Regions from separate parts of the Homo sapiens genome. Here all the other regions are linked to region 2. The links are contacts of gene promoters, found by promoter capture Hi-C in blood cells and fetal thymus (Javierre and others, 2016). All regions are on one chromosome and are shown on one strand. Each heading gives the region's core, a stretch centred on a gene start or on the middle of the fragment in contact. The rest is flanking DNA. Distances are from core to core; before and after follow the strand shown.

What was found. Contacts are between HindIII fragments. The CHiCAGO score rates a contact against its expected background, and 5 or more counts as called.
Region 1: a fragment that was not itself captured here is called in contact with the fragment with the promoter of FBXO4 in region 2 in 2 of 17 cell types (total B cells and erythroblasts); the score reaches 5.9 in total B cells.
Region 3: a contact is called between a fragment that was not itself captured here and the fragment with the promoter of FBXO4 in region 2, in 2 of 17 cell types (monocytes and naive CD8 T cells). The highest score is 7.9, in monocytes.
Region 4: a contact is called between a fragment that was not itself captured here and the fragment with the promoter of FBXO4 in region 2, in 1 of 17 cell types (total CD4 T cells). The highest score is 5.1, in total CD4 T cells.

Annotation. Positions count from the first base shown.
Region 1 is chr5:43,048,588-43,051,287 of GRCh38, forward strand. All of the region lies in intron 2 of ANXA2R-OT1 (ANXA2R overlapping transcript 1), which reads right to left. Among named protein-coding and RNA genes, the nearest start is that of ANXA2R-AS1, 7.8 kb to the left of the region's middle. The HindIII fragment of the contact is 199 bases long and covers 1,290-1,488 here.
Region 2 is chr5:41,924,027-41,926,726 of GRCh38, forward strand. It overlaps FBXO4 (F-box protein 4), which reads left to right and starts at 1,255. Exons shown (of 7, transcript NM_012176.3): 1 at 1,255-1,472. The coding sequence starts at 1,284. RefSeq lists a silencer at 1,513-1,692. The HindIII fragment of the contact is 6,278 bases long and covers 1-2,700 here.
Region 3 is chr5:43,122,880-43,125,579 of GRCh38, forward strand. ZNF131 (zinc finger protein 131) reads left to right here. Exons shown (of 7, transcript NM_001330707.2): 3 at 330-431. Among named protein-coding and RNA genes, the nearest start is that of ZNF131, 3.3 kb to the left of the region's middle. The HindIII fragment of the contact is 1,119 bases long and covers 812-1,930 here.
Region 4 is chr5:40,751,903-40,754,602 of GRCh38, forward strand. All of the region lies in intron 1 of TTC33 (tetratricopeptide repeat domain 33), which reads right to left. Among named protein-coding and RNA genes, the nearest start is that of TTC33, 2.7 kb to the right of the region's middle. The HindIII fragment of the contact is 2,153 bases long and covers 351-2,503 here.

The DNA of each region.
Region 1 (2,700 bases), core at 139-2,638, 1.1 Mb after region 2:
TTTTTAAAAGATTTTCTGCATCTACTGATATTATCACATGGTTTACTTCCTTTTTAATGTTAATGTGTTGACTAATATTAACTGATTTTCAAGTGCTAAACCAATATTGAGTTCATGGAATAAATCCCACTGGATCATGATGTATTTTTTAAAACATATATTGCTGGATTCAATATGCTAATACATTATAATTTTTATCACCTGTGATCATGAGAGCTCTTGGCTAACCAAAAAATTGGGGGATTGACAAGAGTGATATACAAAATAGGCATATAAATATTCATACTTGCTTGATATTTAAAAGGGCCTTTTAATTTTTCTGCCCTGCTCAGGCAGACTTATTAAATACTGGCATCATGTCTCATTCGGGGCCATTCAAAGGTCAATAGTGACCTGAATCATTCTATTTTTGTAGGCATCCTCATAATCTTTTCAATACAGATTGAATTATTTAGGATTCAGTCTGCAGAAGAAAAAAGTCAAAGCATATAAGGTAAACAGAGAGGCATATTTTATTGGCCTGGCTTCCACAGGAAGCATTAGCTAAAGTGAAAACTTATGTGCCACTTTTTAATTCAAAAGTGGTTTTTTTAAGAGAGTGGGAGTTAAAAGACAGGGTAATTAGAATAGGAAGGAGTGAGAGACAATTCAATGGTGTGCTACTGAGGCAGAAAATTTAAAAATAAATACGCATTCATTCACTCCAAGAAAAGTAACAGGCAGGGCAAGGGTTAAAAAGAAAAGAACAAGTTCTCCTCTGCCTAGCAAGCTCACTTCAAAGACAGTTATAAGATACCCCTGTCCGGAAAGCCAAGTCCAAAGGAATGGGCTCCAGACACCCGCCCCTGCTCCAGAGCAAGGTTGAATGAAAAAAAAAAAAAAAGAAAGACAAATTCTTTTACTGTTACTCCTCTCCCAGGCTTCTTAAGCGAGATTATGTTTTACAAATGTCTGTATTTAGCCAGTTCTTGTTTTTCTTTCAATGCAGGCACAAGACCACCGACTATGCAAGGCCACAAGTTATGCTATGCTATAGATTATGTGACCTATCATATGATTAGCTGCTTTTGTTTTACTTTTGTAAGCCAGCTTATAAAAACCCCACTCTGTCTTTGTTCTAGGCTCAGCTTTTTGGATGCAAATCCACTGAGCCGGTGCGTACCTAAAATAAACAATCCTCCTGTTCTCCATATCAGTCTCTCTGGTCCTCAGTTTCCTGCAACACTACCTTATTGGCCCATACTGGGTATCACGCAGGGTCAGAGGCGAATTTACCATGCAGCTAAGGAAGCTTAGCTTTTAGGATCCGTTTGAACAGGTCTGTAATTTTGTACTCAAAATTTTTATTCTTTTTTTTAAAGAGAATCCCCCACTACTTTTATGAACATTGGGTACTATTAACTGAACCTACCTTGAACACAACAGTTTGCTTGATCACATGGAACCATCTTCTAGGAAGCCCTATCTAAGAATAATCCACTTAGGATAAGCTTCTAAGAATAATCCACTTAGGATGAAAGAAAGGGGAAGAATATATCCACTGTGGGAGAAATAAAACAATCCTGACACAAAAAGACCCCTGTGTACCCAACAGAAGAGAGACAGAACACTAGTATTGAATTAGCCTTAACAGATTTACATGCATGTAAGGTAGCATGACAATAACTATAAAGCTGGCTCATATCTCATATGCTTTGAACAAAGAATGGGGAAGAATGAGAACTGCTTTTACTGCTTCAAAAGAAAAGAGGGTACACCTTGTGACAGTTTCCCCTATACTGAGAAACCCTCAGCTCGTCCTTGTAGGTGCTGTTAAAAAACATCTGGATGTTATTTTCCTATGGCCCGGGTACATTCTGGAGACCGGGCTTAATCCCTAGAGATATTATATTTCCACTGTTAGAACAAAGATTCAGAGTTGTTACCACGTTGAATGTAATATCACTGTTTTCTTTCTTTTGTGGTTTTTAGGAACAGAAACAACACACTCAGACTTGAGAAACTGGTCTGGTTTAAAAGGGTTCCTGGCCTTACAGGTGGGTAAGAAATGTCACTTCCTGGCAGGCTGAGGAACATCAGGATATTTGGAGGACCTTGACAAGGGAAGAATTCACCGAAATCTATAGGTATTCCAGGCAAAGTGTGATAGCAAGATCCTGGTATGGTTTCCTAGCCTTGAGAGGCTTTTAAAAGTCTAATTTGAGATTCCTTATTAAAAGATCCAGAAAAGCCAACTTAAAGAGACCCTGTGTGGTAAAACACTATTCCTGCTGCACTTGTGTAAATATTAGGCCAACTTTAAAGACACTAAATTTATTTTGCAAACAGATTACTCTTACTAATACTTTGATGATGTTTGATAAAAAGGGAGTAAGTATAGAGAAAAAACTTTCAGAGAAAAAAATATAGTGCACCTGTTATTAGACTCTAGCTCATTGTTTTTGAGGTTTTTTCGTCTACCTGAAATCTAGACTGGATCTTGAATTTTTTGTTTCCTGTAATATCTGGCAATGGGCTGGGTGTCAGAGCTCGCAACTGCAATCCCAGCACTTTGGGAGGTCGAGGTGGGAGGATTGCTGAAGCCCAAGACTTCGAGACCAGCCTGGGCAAAAGGCGAAACACCGTCTCTACAAAAAGTTCAAAAATTTGCTGGGCATGGAGGCATGCGCCTGTGGTTGCAGCTGCTTGGAAGGTGGAGGT
Region 2 (2,700 bases), core at 5-2,504:
TCTGGGATTTGTTTCAAAAGGATCCAGAATTGGGGGTGTAGTATTAGGTGAGTATAGCAACAGCACAAGATTAACCAGGTGTTGGTAATGGAATCTTGGATACTGGGCACACAGGAGCATATTATTCACTCTCCTTTTATAAATGTTCAAAATTTTCCGTAATAAAGTTTTTCTCATTCATTTAACAGATATCATTTTAATACTTTATACTTGAACTGATTTTTTTTCTTGCTCTAGTTCGTTTTTTGCTCTCAAAGTAAATCGTGTCCTAGAAAGTGATGAGAAATGCCATATGGTTAATCCGTGGTCCTTGTCCAGATTGCCTCCCAAAAACGAGGCTGCAATTTTATTGGTTATTGGCCCCTACCAACAACATGCAAATAATAAAATGTAATGAAACTTAAACTTGTATGTTACAGAGCCTTGCAGAACCTTAGTTATCAGGCTTTCTTGGATTCTGTTGACATTTAGATCCTCAGAGATTTACTTTTTGAATGTATACATACCCAGTTCTATGTAACAGATTAACTTGTAATACGTTCTCTTAAAGCACTTTTAAAGTAAGCCCAAAGTAAGTAGAATGGGCATCTGGTTTGAGAATTAAAAAACTCACTAGTGGGATTTCAACACCACCACATCTGGGTTCTTCTAGCCGTTTTTTGCCGCCCTTGCAAATTTTAAATGTGCTTATATTTTTGCATAGTGGGTCCAGACTTCTCATTTTGGCAAAAGGTTCTTTGTAATTGGCCCGCTGACTGCCTCTCTAGTCTGTTTTTGCTGATACTCAAGAAAATAAATGGTAACTTGGTGATTGAGGAAATAACACACACAAAAAACACCCCATACGTAGTATGGTAGTGCTGAAAAGGAAGCAAGTGGTTATTAAGCCCAAGACAGTGGCAGAGGTCTATCGAACAAGCGGAGTCGCCTAGGACCAGGCATAGTGGAAATGATCCCGGAGAGAACATCTTGAATGAAGCCAGGAAGTCAGCGGGCCAGAGGTTGTACAGGGGCTCTGCGGTTGGCGTGGCTGAGGTTGAGGCCACAAGTTACTGGGGAAGTTAATTGTTGACAGGAGCTTCGTACTCGGCTCACAGCCACGCACAGTGGGCTTCCTCCCAGTACCCGCCCTTGCCCCTGGGCCTAACCCTGCCCTGGAGGCGGACTCGCGGGAGAAGCGGGAGGCGGAACGCCCGAGGGCGCCCTCGGCTGGCGCGGAGCTGCGCAGGAGGCTGACGCGCTAGCGTGGCTCTAAGACGCGTCACCCACGCTGCGGGCAAGCCATGGCGGGAAGCGAGCCGCGCAGCGGAACAAACTCGCCGCCGCCGCCCTTCAGCGACTGGGGCCGCCTGGAGGCGGCCATCCTCAGCGGCTGGAAGACCTTCTGGCAGTCAGTGAGCAAGGAGAGGGTGGCGCGTACGACCTCACGGGAGGAGGTGGATGAGGCGGCCAGCACCCTGACGCGGCTGCCGGTGAGCGTCGGCCGCAGGCCGCGGAGGACAGTGGGGCCGGCCCGGGCCGGAGGGACCTCCCCTGGAGCCCCCCGGGGCCTGGGGAACTCTCGCGCCCCGGCCTGGGTCTGGCTCCGTCCATGCAGCCATTCCTGGCAGTGTAGTCACCGAGAAGCTACAGTTGATCAGAAGCGTCTTGGCGTGGACCCTGGTGCTCCGCAGGGGGCCCGAACATCTCAGGGAAGCACCTTCATGGGGCCCCTGGGGACCCTCCCGATCGCCCTCAGGTTTTCCACCCGCCAAAACAGGCACATGTGACTAGGACACCCTGAATGTCCGGTTACGGAAATGAGACAGTTCCCAACTTGCTGATTAGCTTGGGAAAGCATTCCAGCGTCCCTGTTCCCAGCGTCTTTGATTCCGGATCACTGTACCAAAACACTTGGAGGGCCAAGGTTTTTACCCTCTCAAGAGGACATTGTGCCTGTGGCTGTTATTGTGTATTTGAAGAAACAAAACGGCCCCTCAGTTGAAAATAAATGACTTAAGTTACAAGTGCCTCAAGTTACATCAAGGCCACGAGAATGACACACATAACTTATTGTTAAACTTTGGGGTAGATAGGTAAATGAAGAGAACAAAAATTATTGAAAATTATTACAATTCTTTGTCTCATTTGGACTATTGACACCTCTCTCCAATGTGTATATCAACGTGAAAGCTGCAGGTTTAGAATGCCTCCAAGTTTCTCCTTGCAGAGGTTTTTCATAACATTTTAATAGATTCTGTAGAGGAACTAAGATGACAAATTTACGGCCGGGCGCGGTGGCTCACGCCTGTAATCCCAGCACTTTGGGAGACCCAGGTGGGCGGATCACGAGGTCAGGAGATCAAGACCATCCTGGCTAACACGGTGAAACCCCGTCTCTACTAAAAATATAAAAAATTAGCCGGGCTTGGTGGCAGGCGCCTGTAGTCCCAGCTACTTGGGAGGCTGAGGCAGGAGCATGGCGTGAACCTGGGAGACGGAGCTTGCAGTGAGCCGAGATCTTGCCACTGCACTCCAGCCTGGGCGACAGAGCGAGACTGTGTCTCAAAAAAGAAAAAGACAAATGTACACTCTTTGATTTGGTCTGATGATAAAATCAGATAAAGGTTGATATGGGTTTTATTTTGAAGGACAAATTATTTCCTTAACTAATTTATGTAACTAACTGGTATATCCAAATATCTCTGAGGAAAAATTAAA
Region 3 (2,700 bases), core at 121-2,620, 1.2 Mb after region 2:
TTTATTTAGCAGTTTCAACTGAGTTGGATATGCTTCTCACTACTTAATTGGAAACAACAGAGTGTCAAGAGGCTCCTTACCTAGTGTTGTAAATTAGGCTTTATAAAACTAAAGGGGTTTGAAGTGAAGATTTAGCTTTATATCTAATTGAGATTAACATTTGCCAAGATAGCTGCCAAGAATATTCTGCATTTAGTTCAATAATTTCTGTAGTTACGTAATGAAGGAAGACCTATTTTGCTTTATATGATTTTTAAGTCTATTTTGTAGTTATACATTTGATTTTCGTGCTTGTGTATGATTTTCTTTTTTTTTCTTATTTTACCTAGGACACCATTTTAAGGCTCACAAGGCTGTTTTGGCTGCTTGTAGTAAGTTCTTCTACAAATTCTTTCAGGAGTTTACCCAAGAACCATTGGTGGAGATAGAAGGTAAATGATTCTTGTTGTTTTTTTATTTAATAAATCAAAGAAGCCATTTTATTTAAATGCTTGTTTTAAATACAATACTTAGCAAACAATTGGTGAAGCAGTTTTAGACAGTTTATCAAGACACCATAGGAAATAGGCATCAGTAGTTCCTGTAGGTAAAGGTAGATAAATTGTTCTTTTGATACCTGAGAAGTCTTACTTTCAGTGAAGTGCTTGGTTGAATGATCTGCCAGGAAAAACTTAGATGGTAGATGTTGGTCTTTTCCATTGTGGAAACTGGTGGTCATTGTTTTTTGAAAACAAGTATTAAACGTGAATTACTATCTTTGTTCAGTGGGCTTATGTTTCAGACTGCTGGAGATGCTGCAGGTTACAGTAGAAGCTTTTACTGTACTCTATAGCAGAAGTAGTGATGTATTAGCAGAGGTACAGATGACATGCAGTGTGAAGTGGGCTGCCATAATAGGGAGAAAGCTAGGAAAAATGAACTGAAGTAGCATTTAGAGGAAATTCTGGCTCTACAATGGGATGGATCAATACCTGTTACCTTGAAGCAAAAAGTGATTTTTGTACTTTCTAGACATTTTTCTAATAATAACCTGCCAAGTGCCAGGCGTTGTGATATGTAGTTTTGTGTATTGTCTAAGGCTCACAGCAATCGTTTGATGTTGGGCAGGATGGCTTGTGCTTGTAGTCCCAGCTACTCGGGAGGCTGAGGCAGGAGGATTGCTTGAGCCCAGGAGTTCGAGGCCAGCCTGGGGCAACATAGACCCTGTCTTTTCTTTTCTTTTCTTTTCTTTTCAAAAAGGGAAGTGGTGTTATTTGTAATAATTTACACTTCAGGAAGCAGGCTCTAAAAGGTTACTTGCCCAGGGTTGTCCAACTAGCAAGGAATTAAGTTTGTGCTATTAATTACCATGCTTTTTCTTCTGCTACTGCAGTAACTCCTCCCCTACCACCAGCATCAAAATCTAAAACAGCAGGAAATAAATGTTTGCCTACGTAATTACAGAATTTTAGCTTCTTTTAGGGTTCTTGGGTTTTGGTTTTATATCTATTTCATTGTGTACGTATTCTTTGTTCTGAATGGGTTGCCTAGAAACTCCTTTTTTCCCTTTGATGCCTAGGGGAGTAAAGAAAACAAAAAAGAGTTAAGAATATTCTTTAATTTTGGTATATTCCAGTTTAGCATTATAGCTGATATATTTACAGCTAGAGTATCTTTTAATATCTATAATCAGGACAGAGACATAATTATGAAAATCCACAAAACTTAATAAAGTGAGAATCTAACTGCCCAGATGATAGTGGTTTCTACTACAAAGCAAGCCTCCATGAATTCATTCACACCTGAGGTTTATTAAATATGTGACCCCAGGCGGGTTACTTTACCTCAATTGCATACTTTTCTCCTCATCTGAAAAGTGGGTTCATAGGATTATAAAGACTAATTGCGATAACATGCAGAGTGCATGGCATGATATTTGGTGCCTTGTCAAAGCTTGATAAACAGGGTCCAGTCTAAGAAACATTAGGGAGACCTCTTCTCTACAAAAAATTTAAAAAATTATTAGCTGAGTCTGATGGCACATGCCTGTGGTCCCAGCTATTCAGGAGGCTGAGGCGGGAGGATTGCTGGGGCCCAGGAGGTCAAAGCTGCAGTGAGCCATGATTTTGCCACTGCATTGTAGCCTGGGCGACAGAGCAAGGCCCTGTCTCAAAAAAAAAAAAAAAAAGTCAGTTTATCATATTGAATATCTATAATATATCATGTACTATGTTAGACCCAGGAGATGAAGAATTAATGAATAAGATGTCCCTTAAAGAAGTCGGAAAATTTCATAACAGGTGAGCAACAGGCAAATAAAGGAGTGCAAAAAGTATTACAAAGACTATTACTGTGAAATGGTATCACTGAAGAGGGAGAATGAGTGGTTTGGTCTTCCTTAGGAAAGATTTCAAAGAGGAGTTTTGAGTCTGAGCAGAATTTTTTTTTTCTTTTTTTTGGAGATAGATTTTAGCTCTTGTTACCCAGGCTGGAGTGCAATGGCGTGATCAGGCTGGTCTCGAATTCCCCACCTCAGGTGATCCACCCGCCTCTTCCTCCCAAAGTGCTGGGATTACAGGCGTGAGACCACGACTGGCCAAGTCTGAGCAGAATTTTTAAGTCTTAAAAAATAAGTGGCCTGGCCGGATGCGGTGGCTCACGCCTGTAATCCCAGCACTTTGGGAGGCCGAGGCAGGCAGATCACCTGAGGTCGAGAGGTCG
Region 4 (2,700 bases), core at 177-2,676, 1.2 Mb before region 2:
GCCAAGATCATGCCATTGCACTCCAGCCTGGGCAACAGAGTGAAACTCCGTCTCAAAAGAAAAAAAAAAAAAAAAAGAAAATCTCATTTAGTGTAGCCAACTTCATCAATTATCTTAGCTAGATCTTTTCTGGATAACATCAGCATTTGCTGCTTTACTTTGCACTTTCATGTTATGAAAATGGCTTCTTAAACCTCACAAACGAACCTCTAGCAGTTTCAAACTTTACTTTGGCAGCTTCTTCACCTCTCTCAGCATTCACAGAATTGAAGAGAGTTAGAAACTTGCTCTAAATGAGGCTCCTGCTTAAGGGAATATTGTGGCTGGTTTGATCTATCTAGACCATTCAAAGCTTCTCCATATTAGCAATAAAGCGGTTTTTGCTTTCTTATCATTTGTGTGTTTACTGAAGTAGCACTTTCAATTTCATTGAAGAACTTTTCCTTTGCATTCACCACTTGGCTGTTTGGTGCAAGAGGCCTAGCTTTCAGCCTGTATTGGCTTTCAACAGGTCTTCCTAAAATCATTTCTAGCTTTTGATTTAAAATGAGAGATGTGTAACTCTTCCTTTCACTTGGACACTTAGAGGGCATTGTAGGATTAACTGGCCTAATTTCAATATTGCTGTGTCTCAGGAAATAGGGAGACCCAAGGAGAAGAAGAGAGATGGGAATAGCCAGTTGGTGGTACAGCATTCAAAACACACATTTATTGATTAAGTTCACCATCTCATATGGGCATGGTTCATGGCAACCCAAAATGATTACAATTGTTAACACCAAAGATCATCGATTACAGATCACCATAACAGATATAGTAATAATTAAAACATCTGAAATATTTCAAGAATTACCAAAATGTAGCACAGAGACACTAAGTGCACACATGCTATTGGACAAATAGCACGAAAAGACTTGCTGGACACAGGGTTACTGAGCACTTGCAATGTGCAAAAACGCAGTATCTATGAAGTGTGATAAAGTGAAGCACAATAAAATGATCCCTGTAATCACTAGAAGGAAGGTGAGAAAAAAAGTGAGGGTGGCTATGAGGTCATTCACATGGAAAGACCTACCGTAATGGCAGAATTTGGAGGGGTAAGAAAATTGTGAGTCGTATGTCTGAGTTCTTAATGAATATGAGAGAGTGCCAATAAATCACAGCAATCAAGAAATATACAGGCTGGGCGCGGTGGCTCACACCTGTAATCCCAGCACTTTGGGAGGCAGAGGCAGGCGGATCACCTGAGGTCAGGAGTTCAAGACAAGCCTGGCCAACATGGTGAAACCCCGTCTCTACAAAAATACAAAAAGTACCTGGGCATGGTGGCACATGCCTGTAATCCCAGCTACTTGGGAGGCTAAGGCAGGAGAATCGCTTGAACTTAGGAGGTAGAAGTTGCAGTGAGCCGAGATTGCACCATTGCACTCCAGCCTGAGCGACACGAGCAAAACTCCATCTCAAAAAAAAAAAGAAAGAAAGAAAGAAAGAAAGAAATATACAGGCTGATAATATAAGTGAACCACAAACTTTCCACAGGAACTGAGATTTTTTTTAAAACCTGGAGGACTAATGGATTATAAACTGTGCTGGGGAATAAGGACAATGCAAACTCTCTCCCCAGGCCGATCATATTATAGGAGAATGAGTTTCCCATGTTTGAAGATGACTATGAGTATTGTAGGGGAAGATGGCTGAAAACAGAAGTGTGGATACTATGGAACAGAAGTTAAAAGGCACACAGTGAGGACAACCTGAGAAAATACAGATCATTAGGAAAGACTCACAAGATATCAGTGTAAGACAAGATAAAAAGAAGTCTTGTATTTATGATTATCCCTAATGGTAACAAGAATGATGACCACGTTTTCCGGTTTCAAGATTCCAAATGAAACTTTCTTTATTCATAAGGTGAGGCACCAGGCACTGTGGGAACCCTACTCATACTAAAGGACACCTAGTGTGTTTACTGGAGGTAAACTACAATAAAAATCATTGATCAAAAGAAAAAAAAGTAAAAAAAAAAACCGTTGATCAGATCTGTAGATTACATGAGGGGCTGTGATAGGGTGGGAAGGAAAGGAAAAAGTGAGAAACAGACCCACACATCTTTTAAAATTAATAGGTCATTCAGATTCCAATTACCCTCCCCATCTTCCAACCCAAACCACTGTTATAAATGCTGGGGACAAGTATAAGTTATGGCCCAAGGTGGTGGCTCTCAACCATATGTGAAAAAACCACGCCACTATTGCCTCAGGTGTTTGAGCCATTCTCCTCCACAGATCCCTTGAGACCTAGAGATCAGGGGCTGCAGAGGTCAGGACAGACTGAGGTTATGAGGGTGTGGGAGGCCTGATGCCACTAGCAATCGACAAGTTTAACCTGAAAGAGGGAGACAAAAATACAGTCCTCTCAGACAAAAAAAGGAGTTAATATTGAGTGAAACATACAGGCAAGTTCAGGGATGGAGGGAAAGGAAAATGAGGAATTTCATGCCCCAAGCTTCACATTTCTCCAGCAAACAGCGGCTAGTCATCTGCTCAAAGTAAAAGGAAAATAACAGATCTGAGTTCTTGAGAAAAAGGGAAAAGACTAAAATAGTCACTGTGGAGATAAGGAAAAGCAACAAAGGAAAAATAGAGATACCAAACAGTAGTATCAAGGGCCCACTACTGTGTAAAAGCATGAATCTGTTAT